2 separate regions of the Homo sapiens genome follow, and region 1 is linked to region 2. Evidence: promoter capture Hi-C in 16 types of primary human blood cells and fetal thymus (Javierre and others, 2016). All regions are on one chromosome and are shown on one strand. The core of a region is centred on a gene start or on the middle of the fragment in contact, and the rest is flanking DNA. Distances in the headings are between cores, read along the strand shown. Region 1 overlaps CSNK2A1 (casein kinase 2 alpha 1). Region 2 holds the start of NRSN2 (neurensin 2).

Evidence for each region. Contacts are between HindIII fragments. The CHiCAGO score rates a contact against its expected background, and 5 or more counts as called.
Region 1: a contact is called between a fragment that was not itself captured here and the fragment with the promoter of NRSN2 in region 2, in 7 of 17 cell types (activated CD4 T cells, naive B cells, total B cells and 4 more). The highest score is 8.6, in activated CD4 T cells.

What each region holds. Positions count from the first base shown.
Region 1 is chr20:534,039-539,796 of GRCh38, forward strand. The region is part of intron 1 of CSNK2A1 (casein kinase 2 alpha 1); the gene reads right to left. Among named protein-coding and RNA genes, the nearest start is that of CSNK2A1, 6.9 kb to the right of the region's middle. RefSeq lists an enhancer at 644-693. The HindIII fragment of the contact is 2,441 bases long and covers 3,289-5,729 here.
Region 2 is chr20:342,424-348,360 of GRCh38, forward strand. It overlaps NRSN2 (neurensin 2), which reads left to right and starts at 4,688. Exons shown (of 5, transcript NM_001323682.2): 1 at 4,688-4,719; 2 at 5,011-5,089. LOC101929937 (serine/arginine repetitive matrix protein 2-like) reads right to left here. Exons shown (of 4, transcript XM_047440635.1): 2 at 5,677-5,937; 3 at 4,996-5,591; 4 at 3,843-4,568. The coding sequence ends at 4,245. RefSeq lists enhancers at 3,460-4,223, 4,224-4,986, 4,987-5,749 and silencers at 4,556-4,975, 4,996-5,525, 5,706-5,795. The HindIII fragment of the contact is 16,038 bases long and covers 2,531-5,937 here.

The sequences.
Region 1 (5,758 bases), core at 3,259-5,758, 190 kb after region 2:
TAATCTAAAGAAAAATTCAGCACTTATGAATGTAATAACTACTGTTACCATTTGAATGCCTCTTACAAACCAGGCACAGTATCAGATGCATATTCTGATTTTAGAAATAAACAGATTCAGAGGTTAAATAATCTGCCAAAAACAACAGGATTACTAAGTGGTGGAAGCCAGATCTGTTTAGGATCCAAAGCCTAAATAGGTTCTTTTCACTAAATTTAATACTATTTCCTTAGTTCTCCAAACTGATTTATTAACAGCCTATCCAAAACACTATAATAAAATGAACTGCTTTAAATTTGGAGGCAAGGTAGGGGTGGGATACTGAGTTTCAATAATCAGGTTTCTTCATTATTCTTTTACCTGAATGGGCTGGCCACCAGGCCACAATTGTATAAAAATCAGATTTTAAATGATGGAAAAGCTTTTCTGTGTGGCTACTGAAGGGAGAAAGGAAGACAACTGAGACATGCCCCACCTTGCTGGCTGGGGGCTGGTGACATCTGTGGGCCTCAGTGTTGGACTCCAGATGCAACAAAGCCTAAAGTTTTGAATATGTATGAAGGTCAATGTGATGTTTTCCAAAAACAGTCATAAAAGATGGCTGTGAAAAACCCCCTAGTATAACAACTGTATGTAACAAGAGCATATAGGTAGCTGCAGATGAATGCTCAGGTCCTTAGCTGTGGTGTTTAAAAATTCTTCAGACCAGGCTGGGTGCAGTGGCTCACACCTGCAATCCCAGCACTTTGGGAGGCCGAGATGGGTGGATTGCCTGAGCTCAGGTGTTAGAGACCAGCCTGGGAAACACAGTGAAACCCCATCTCTACTAAAATACAAAAAAAAAAAAAAGCCAGGCGTGGCAGCGTGCGCCTGTAGTCCCAGCTACTTGGGAGGCTGAGGCAGGAGAATTGCTTGAACCCGGGAGGTGGAGGTTGCAGTGAGCCAAGGTCGTGCCACTGCACTCCAGCCTGGCAACAGAGTGAGATGCTATCTCCCAAAAAAAAAAAAAAAAAAAAAAAAAAAAAAAATTTCTTCGGACCAGTGTGGTGGCTCATGAGTGTAATCTCAGCACTTTGGGAGGCTGAGTTAAGAGGACTGCTTGAGCCCAGGAGTTTGAGACCAGCCTGGGCAACATGGTGAGACCTTGTCTCTACAAAAAAAATTAACAACTACCCACAAAGAAAACCCTAGCTCAAGATGGCTTCACTGGAAGGAAAAATGAACTGGTCAGGAAGACAGACAAATAGAAGCAAATAATGAAAGCATTTTATTTGACATTGATAACCTTCTCACAATAAATTATGTGGCAAAATACATGCTTGAATACTTAATTGCTAGGCAATAGTCTATTTTCATTTTTTCACAAAAGGTAGACAACTCCAAAGCAGATGGCCATTTGTAGCCATTCTATATAATCATAAATACACAAAACACTGGCCGGGCGCGGTGGCTCACGCCTGTAACCCCAGCACTTTGGGAGGCTGAGGCGGGTGGATCACCTGAGGTCAGGAGTTTGAGGCCAGCGTGGCCAACATGGCGACACCCCGCCTCTACTAAAAATACAAAAATTAGCCCGGTGGGGTGGCATGCACCTGTAATCCCAGTTACTTAGGAGGCTGAGAGAGGAGAATCACTTGAACCCAGGAGGCAGAGATTGCGCCACTGCACTCCAGCTTGGGCGACAGAGCAAGACTCCATCTCAAAAAAAAAAAAAAAAAAAGTTTTAAAGTGCCGATAAATACAAGTTCCTGGTCTGCCTACAGTTTATCACTTAATAATACAAAGCAAACAAGAAAGCAAGTTAGTGGATTACCTGAGAGAGCAAGACATAGAGAAGATGTTAATGCAGGGAGCTGGCCTTCTCCAAACATATCCCTAACACACAATATTCAAGCAATTCCCAAACTGTGATCAGAGAACCACTGGGAGTAAGACCTCTGATCTATATTTACAAGTCTATAGGTGAGCAAAGGTAGACCTTTTCCTGAGTCTGAGATGGGAATATTACCTTCTCTATCTAGAAGCAAAAGAATCCTAGACTCACCAGGACTAGGTAATAGACACTGTACACGAGTAATTGAGGTAATCTACACTGGGCGTGACTTACATACTGATCCACCCCTAGGCAGCAATTCATACCTCACCCACCCAACAGGCTACATTAGAAACAAGGAAGTACAGGTCAAAAGTCTCATTAAAAAAATAAGAACTCTTGGCAGCAGAAAATGAAAATAAAGAATGAAGAATGACAGCACTGGCAATAAACACATTCTTTTCTCCGAAAGGGAAGGGAAAGAACTAATGTTGGGCACCCACATGCCAGACATTTTATCAATTTTCTCCTTTAATCCTCAATAATCCTGAGATAATACTAGCTAGTACTCTAGTTATTAATCCTCACAAAAATCCTGAGGTAGGTACTACTAATTCCCATGTTACAGGTGAAGAAACCAAAAGTTAGTAAGTTGCCCAAGGTAGTTGTTATCCGAACTGTAGAGACAAGAACTCCCAGACTTGAAGAGGTTAAGTAAACTTCCCCAAACTCAAAGTGGGAGTTCTTTCCCACTAACCTATTGCCTTCCCCTCCCTACCCGCAATCTCAATTAATTCTCTATTCTACCCCCTTCTCATTTCTGCAGCTGTTTCAAAAACTACACCTAAGATACAAAGCAAATAGGAGTTATTATAAGAAAACACCTCCAAAATCTACTAAGTTGTGGTATGATATGCCTGTTATCAGAAAACGTCACTCAATTTTGAGCTTGGAGGGCAGTGACAGTTTGGAGATCTTTAGCACAACGCCTGCCAGAAACGTGGCAGGCGCTCAGGATCTGCTGAATGAACAACATCTTCTGAGTGGTTATGAATTCAATAACCCAAAATGACCATCTCGTATTTCTGGATATGACATGATACCATTTTTTGGAAAATAATTTACCCATTCATTTTAAACAGGGTAGCTTTCTTAAAATTTATAGAACATTGATGAGATAGCTAAACTGAGAAATGCCCATTAAAGCATTAGTCATAACTTCAGGAAAATTTCAAATGTTCACTTTTCCAAGCAAATTAAAATGTTTCAGCTAATAAAAACCTGTCAGAAAAACCCACAAGACAAGAAAGTATAAAAAGAAAAGAGCAGCCAATATAAGGGCATTTAAGATGTCACACATAAAAAATTATAAAACATTAATCTAACTTGTACCTTGGTATTTAACCCTAAAACTGTCACCTCAGATAACACAATATTTTCTATGCAAGAAAACATTATCACCACGAATGTAAAGAAGCTTGCCGACCATAGCAACTGTTGCTACGTAGGGTTTTTTAATGTCTAAGACTGAAAGACAGAATTTGTAGAAACCAGTTAAAATGCCACTCTTAGCAGTATCTTGTGATACTGTGAATGCTTTCACCTTAAACTTTTTAAAAGACTCAATCTTTGACTTCTACATGTGAAAAAAAAAAAGTACATCTGGGAGCACTCAACGTAAGAAAACTACCAATTGTCTATAACCCAATGAAAATACATCCTTTGTTACAATGACAGCAGCTACTTTTCCTTAATAATCCTAGAGGAATTTCTTCATTTGAAAAGCTGGCTGGCCTAGATTTCTCTATAAACTAAATGACATGCTACTTTCGAAATTATCCATTTCAGAAGTTCAAAGAAATTCAGGTATAAGAACACATTAATACTCTCATGAAACAAACCTTATCCAGGTTACCCACGAATTGTGACAGATCAAAACCCAGTTTCTCATTTCAAATCAAGTATCACATTATTTATTACCTTAAAATACTAAGCCCTTACCTAATTCAATGGCAAATCATATTGGTTTTCAGTTTCTGAACTTGTACAAATCATACTGTAATATTTATGCAAAAGTTGTCATATAGTTGAATATTATAGACAGTTAACATCTTTTTTTTTTTTTTTTGAGACGGAGTCTTGCTCTGTCCCCCAGGCTGGAGTGCAGTGGCGTGATCTTGACTCACTGCAACCAACCTCCGTCTCCCAGGTTCAAGTGATTCTCAGCCTCCTGAGTAGCTGGGACCACAGGCACGCACCTCCACACTCAGCTAATTTTAGTAGAGATGGGGTTTTACCATGTTGGCCAGGCTGGTCTTGTCCTGACCTCAAGTCATCTGCCCACCTCGGCCTCTCAAAGAACTGGGATTACAGGTGTGAGCCACCATGCCCGGCCAACAGTAGAAAAGGGTACTCAGGGAACATAGTTCAAAAGTCATGATTCTCTATTGGCTGGACCAGGATTCTAGACTAGCTCTAGGGCTGAGATATCTTAGTAGACCAGTTAACATTCATGTGGCCCAATTTCCCTTACTCTAAACCCAAAGTCAAACATAACCTCTAAAGTCTTTCATACCCTGAAATGCTAATCTTGTAATCATCTTTCTATTCAGGTAATAACTCAAAAGAAATGGTCTCACTTCCTTCATCCTCTGACTAAAGTTTAGTTAGTCCATATTTTATGAATCCAATTAATAGGATACTTTAAAGAACAAAAAGAAAAGACTTTTCTTAAAAGCTAGAAACTCCATTCTGTAGTGATGATTCCCAGATCTGACTCTTAAACTCAACAACCTCAACAGACAATGACAGGGAGAAAAGATCTTACAAGTTTGAGCTGAGCTGGGGTGGGGTGGGAGGTGTGAGAGAACAGAGAGACAGTTACAAATTCACAAAAATGTATCACCCATTTCCATCTCCTCTAAAAAAATATGAAATAAGCCTTAAAAGGCTGTCATAGAAACCCATTATTAAGCCAATAAAAACTAATGAAGAAATTATGTCATTTATCCAAGATATGGAAGAACCACCTATTTACAGAAATCCTACCAATGTCCTAGACCTTCAGAAACTACATCTCACTAAGCTGACCATCAAGCCCCTTCAAACTGCATCTAAGGACAATAATAATATTCAAACATCAAGAAACAGGCACAGGTTCCACTCAACACCATTATTCCGTGGAGTCTTCCAGGACTAAATTGTTTTATAGAATCTTTGCTATCTTTGTTCTCTAGAAAATGATATCCCAAAGACTCTAAAATAAAACCAGCAAAACCCCTGTATTTGTTTTCCATTGTGTCATAACAAATTATCACAAACAAAACAACACAAATGGATTATCTTACAGAAGTCAGTGGGCTTGACTGGGTCTCACAAGGGCTAAATGAGGGTATCCAGTGGGTGGGTTCCCTGCTGGAAACTCTGGGGAAAATTTGCTTCCACATTCATTCAAGCTATTGGCTGAATTTAGTTCCTTGCAGCTGTAGGACTGAGTTCCCACTTCCTTGCTGGTTGTCAGCTGGGACTGGCCTTTCCTACTAGAGGCTGCCTGCATTCCCCGTCTCACACTTTCAATCTGGTCCCCTCCAGTAACGGCAGGCTGAGTCCTTCTCATGCTTCAAATTTGACTTCCCCTTCTGCCTCATCTCTGACACCAGCCAGAAAAAGTTCTCTGCTTTTAAGTGCTTATGTGAGTAGAATAAACCCACCCAGAAAATCCAAGATAATCTACCTAAGATCCTTAACTTTAATTAAATCTACTTAACATATTCATGTTCCAGGGTTTATAGTATGGAAATCGTAGGGGAGCCATTCTGCTTACCGCAGTCTGCCTTCTGGTTTCCAAGGATTCATCTCTCTCTCAAATGCAAAATACATCCATCCCATCCCAAGGTCCCAAAGGTTTCCCATCTAAAGCTTATCATTTCAGAAGTCCCAAATCTC
Region 2 (5,937 bases), core at 3,438-5,937:
TATCAGGCTGTAATCCCTCCCAAAGGCCCACTTCCAAATAACATCACCTTAGGACTTCAACATATGAATATGAGGGAGATACAAACATTCAGTCTGCAGCAGAGGGCTTCGTTAGAGCTCTGACCTGAGCACGCTTCATCTCAATGTCATTGTTTTTGCCAGCTCTACATCCACTGCCCTTTTTTTTTTTTTTTTTTTTTTTTTTTTTTTTTGAGACAGAGTCTCACTCTTATCACCCAGGCTACGGTGCAGTGGCACGATCTTGGCTCACTGCAACCTCCGCCTCCCAGCTTCAAGTGATTCTCCTGCCTCAGCCTCCGGAGTAGCTGGGACTACAGGTGCATGCCACCACACCCGGCTGATTTTTGTATTTTTAGTAGAGACAGGGTTTCACCATGTTGGTCAGGCTGGTCTCAAACTCCTGACCTTGTGATCCACCTGCCTCAGCCTCCCAAAGTGCTGGGATTACAGGCATGAGCCACTGGGCCTGGCCCCACTGCCCTTTCTTACAGTAACAGTATTTCAATTTCCCTTTAGGGAAGCTCTTCAAGCAGGTTCTCAGTCCAAGAGGTTTCTCTGGGTTAAGCACTGCCAGCCACCCAAAGGGTGAGCAAGTAACCAGCCAATCAGAGACACTCCAGTGGGTTCAGTAAATGACATATTATCTAACTGGGGTGAGGGGAATCAACATCAGGGCTTTTCCTGAGACTATAAGGAGAAACAGATTCTTTTCCCAGCAGTTAAATTTGAAGTCTGTGGCCATTTTGCTACCATATAGGGAAAATCTGCCTGACATTGAAGCCAACACAGATGAGGGAAGAGCCAAGAGATAAAGAGAAAGATCCTGAGCATCTGGATACAGCCATGCCTGAAGCCAGTATCCCTTGACTTCTCAATTATGTGAGCCTTTATATTCCCTTTGTTTAAAGCCAGTTCAAGTTTAAAACTGCCATTTCCAGTGAGAACAATTCCCTATGTTGTATCTAAGGCCAAGACCTTGCCCCTGACTCTAGGCCAGAATGTCCTGTACAGTGCCATTCAACTCTGCCAAAAGCAAAGGGCATCAACTTCTCCACAACCTGGCTTTCCCTCATCTATTTTACATCTCTGTTAATGGGAGCATCACCCACCTGACCTATAAACATAAAAGTCAGCCTCTATCCTCTCTGTCTCTCTCCCTCTCTCTGTCTCTCTCTCTCTCTCTCAATCCCTGTCACTTCCCTTACTTCTTAGTAACCAAGTTCTGCCAACTTAACTTTATGGACATTTTTCACACCTGCACCCTCCTTTCCATTTTTCCTGCCCACTCCAATTCTTCATCATTTCTCACCTAAATTTTTACAAAATCAATAGATAACTAACATAGAGGTGTATAGTAAAAAGTGAATTTCGGCCGGGCACAGTGGCTCATGCCTGTAATCCCAGCACTTTGGGAGGCCGAGGCAGGCAGATCATGAGGTCAGGAGATAGAGACCATCCTGGCCAACATGGTGAAACCTCATCTGTACTAAAAATACAAAAAAAAATTAGCTGGGCATGGTGGCATGTGCTTGTAGTCCCAGCTACTGGGGAGGCTGAGGCAGGAGAATCGCTTGAACCCGGGAGGCGGAGGTTGCAGTGAGCTGAGATCGCACCACTGCCCTCCAGCCTGGTGACAGAGCGAGACTCCATCTCAAAAAAAAAAAAAAAAAGTGAATTTCATTCCCACCCTTGCCATCAGTTACCCTCCCCCAAGGCATCTACTGTTACCTCTTTCTTGTCTATTTTCCCAGAAGTTCTCTATATGTGCCATCTTTTTGAGAATTTCAAATGGAGGCATACTATCAAGACTTTTCAGAACACTGCATCCTTCTTCACTTGAAGTGTGATTAATATAAATAATTATAGACTAATTTCTTCTTTCTAATGGATGCATAGTATTCCACAAAGACATATAATGTACATAACTCGTCTTCCATTGATGGATATTTAAGTGGTGTCCCAGTTATCTGTTAGCACAGAACAAAACCCCCCAAACCTAGTGGTATAACACAATAACCACTTGAATATGCTTGTGGGTTCTGTGTGTCAGGAATTCAGGCAGGACACAGTGAGGCCAGCTTGTTTCTACTCTGCAATGTTTGAGTCTTCAGCTAGGAAGATTTGAAGATTTGAAGGCTGAAGCTGATTCAAATGGCTGGCCACTGGAATCATCTTGTTCTTCCCCTTCCCCTTCGCCTTCTACAGTGCAATGGCATGATGTCGGCTCACTGCAACCTCTGCCTCCCGGGTTCAAGCAATTCTCCTGCCTCATCCTCCCTAGTAGCTGGGATTACAGGTGCACGCCACCATGCCCGGCTATTTTTGTATTTTTAGTAGAGACGGGGTTTTGCCATGTGGCCAGGCTGGTCTCGAACTCCTGAACTCAGGGTATCCACCCGCCTTGGCCTCCCAAAGTGCTGGGATTACAGGTGTGAGCCACCGTGCCTGGCCTCATCTGGTTCTTCTTCACTCACTTCTTTTATGCTTGAACTGGGATGACTCAAAGCTAAGCTTAGCTGGGACTGTGGTGCCTTCATGTGTCCTCTCCTGATGGTCTTGGCATCCTGACAGCATGGCAGCCTCTAAGCAGACATGGAGCCCTAGGTAGGCATGGTGCCTCAGGCTCCAAGAGCTAGAGTTCTAGCAGAAGTTGCCTGTACTTTTATGTCTGGACCTTAGAAGTCAGAGTGTTACTTCCACCGTACTCCATTGGTTGAAGCAGTCATCAGCTCACCCAAGATTCAGAGAGGGTACAAGGATCCCACCTCTCTACAGAGGAGTGCTAAAGAATTTGTAGCTATATTTTAAAACCACCACAGGTTGTTTCCAATCTGTAGCTATTCCTGTAGTTCATTTTACAGGCTAACATCTCTTGAATGTCTTCATTTCTCTGCACCAGGCCAAGACACTGTCATCTCTGATCTCTTTGCTGATCTCTTGCTGTCACTCTTGTGCTCAACATGCTGTTCTCTTGACAGCAGCCAGAGGTCTTTTCAGAATGAAAATCAGATCACATCCCACCCCTCTTCATAACCCTTCCATGGCTCCCCACTACCCTTGGGCTGAAGCTCAAACTCCTTACCTTGGCTTATGAGGCCCCACAAGGTCTCACTTCTGCCTGCCTCTCCAATGCCATCTCCTGTCACCATTTGGGGCCTTTAGTTTTGAGCTGCAAGAGTTCCTCCCATCACACACACACACATACACACACACACACACACTTAAATGAGTAAGTAAATAGAACATACAAAACGCTTAAACACTTTGCACATAGTGAGCATAATAAGTTTGCTACTATTATTAGACTGTCTTCAGTAAATATTTACTGGGCTGCCTACTCAGTGCCAAGCACTATGGGAGGCTCACAGATACAACACGAACAAGAAATATGTGGCCTTGGCCAGACGCGGTGGCTCACGCTTACAATCCCAGCACTTTGGGAGGCCGAGGCAGGTGGATCACTTGAGCTCAGGAGTTCAAGACCAGCCTGGGCATCATGGCAAAACCCTGTCTCTATTAAAAATACAAAAAATTAGCTAGGCATGGTAGTGCGTGCCTGTAGTCCCAGCTCCTCAGGCGACTGAGGTGGGAGGATCACCTGAGCCTTGGGAGATCGAGGCTGCAGTGAGCCGTGATCATGCCACCGCACTCCAGCCTGGACAACAGAGTGAGACGCTGTCTCAAAAAAATAAAAATTAAAAAAAAAGAAAAAGAAAAACTAAAAAGGAAGATGTGGCCCTATCTTGCCGAGCTCATTCTTCTGTGTGTCCCCAGCCCCTAGCACAAGGAGAAACAGAATAGATGCTCAAGACACAAAGGCATGTCTGTGCAAGGGTGCTTGATGACGGTTGGAGGGGCACAATGACTTTCCCAAGATCACACAGCAAATGTGGGACAAAATCAAGGCTGACAGCTCATGACAGGGTGGGAGGCAGATGCAGCTGCCTGGCACAGGCTGGCTCTCCAGGGAGATGGGCAGTGGGCACGCATTGCCCAGGGCAGAACTGGGGCTAGGGGAGGAAACAACAAGGGAGGCTGTCATTAGCTCCTTCCAAAGTGGAGGTCACTTCTCTCCCAACCCCGAGTCCTCCACCCAAACTCCCTTCTCAAGGTACAAGGGCTGATCCCGTACCAGGGATGGGTAGGGACTCAAAGAGGAAAAGAGGATGAAAAGAGGATGGGGACTGAGTGAGATGTGAGGACTCCAGAGGGATTAGCGGCTCTCAAGGCAAGTGGGAGGGGACTTCCCGGTAGGAGCCCGGAGACAGATGGGAGCCTGTGAAGAGGGCGGGGGCCCGGCGAGGAGAAGCGGTTTCTACGCTGGGGTGGGGCTCCATGAGGGGGATGGAGACCTGGAAAAGGGACTGACGGTGCAGCGAGGAGAGGAAGGCTCGGTTAAGGGATGGGTCTTCCACGGGAGGGGTGGGGAACTGCGGGAGTGACGGCAGCTTCGGTGAGGAGTCTGAGGGGCTGCGTGAGGGGCTGGGGCCCAGGGAGTCCGAGGGGTCTCTGTGAGGGCGCTGGGGTGTCCGAGCGAGCAGGGAACTCTGGAAGGGGACAGGAGCCGGGGGAGCTGCAGGCGGCCGCCGTCTGCAGAGCCAGGCCCTGAGGCGGGCCGGCGCCCCCTCCCCCGCCCCGAACTGCGGCGCAGGCGCGAACCGGACCCGCCTTTGCTCGGCGGAGACAGCAGGCAGAGAGGTGAGCTTAGCCCTGCCCCACGCGCGGCCAGGCCCCAGCCCCAGCCCCTGGAGAACCCCCGCGCTCTGCCCGCATCCTCAGCCCGGGCCGTGTCCCGCCAGGGCCGGGACCTTTGCGCCTGAGCCTCGGCTTTGGGAGGTGGGGGTCCCAGGGAAGCAGCAGGGGCGGGAGACAGAAACAGCCCCATCGCCCCTCGACGCCTCAGGGTTGATAGGCTGGGTAGAGGCTTCAAAGGACACCCCCACCCCCGCCAACACTTCAAAAACCCATTCCTACCCCTCTCTGCCTCAGTTTCTCTCTAGGGAAAAGGACGCAGTTGGTGTGGAGCAGGGCATCGGTGGTCCTGTCAGGAAGAGTGGCGCGGGTGCCGGTGGGGAAGGGAGGCGGGAAATGGCCTGATTTCCCCGGCCGACACCCCCTACCCATCCCCCCCGGGAGGGCGCCCCTTCTCCCCCGCCCGGGCAGCGCTGGACGCTGTAGTGGGCGAGTCTGAGGGTCTGGGAAGGACACAACTGAATGAGGCTGTGCAGAGGCGACAGATTCCGTCCATCTTCGGGCCCTGGCTTCCGTCACTTCCGCCCGTGCCTGCCGCCCCTCGCCTCCTCCCTCCGCCGCAGTCTCCCCACGTCGGACAGCGCAGCCCCCTCCGCCTCCCGCTCCCCTCCCACCGAGCTCCTCCCGGCTCCCGGGCTGGGGACGCCTCCCTAGCGGTTCCCATGGCAACCCTCGTCCCGGGTGCCTGCGCCCCGCCCCCCGCCCGCCAGACCTACTCCGTGCAGCCCTGAAACGCCAGGCGGAGGGGCCAGGCCGAGCGGGAGGCAGCGTCAAGGTCACCTTCCCTCTCCAGTAGCAGCAGGACTGAGTGATTCCATCTATTTGGAGTCGCGGAAGCGGTGAATTGGAGGGGAGGAGCTGACCCAGGTCAACAGCCCCGAAGCCCCCTCCACACCTCCTCACCTGTGGCCTTGAACAGTGGTCTCCGCACGGAGGCTCCTACCGTCCCCCAGGCCCCATTTCTTCTCCCCACCCGGGCCTCCCCAGCGCCTCGCCGGGGCGGGTACCGCGCTGGCCGCACCCTCCGCACAGCCCGCCCCGCCCGCCTCCTCCGGCGAGCCCTCCTCTCCAGACCTCTCGCCCTCCTCCTCCGACGGTCCTTCGCTTTCAGTCTCTGCCTTTTCCCGTTCTCTGTCGTGGCTTTTGTTGTTGTTGTTTTTCCTC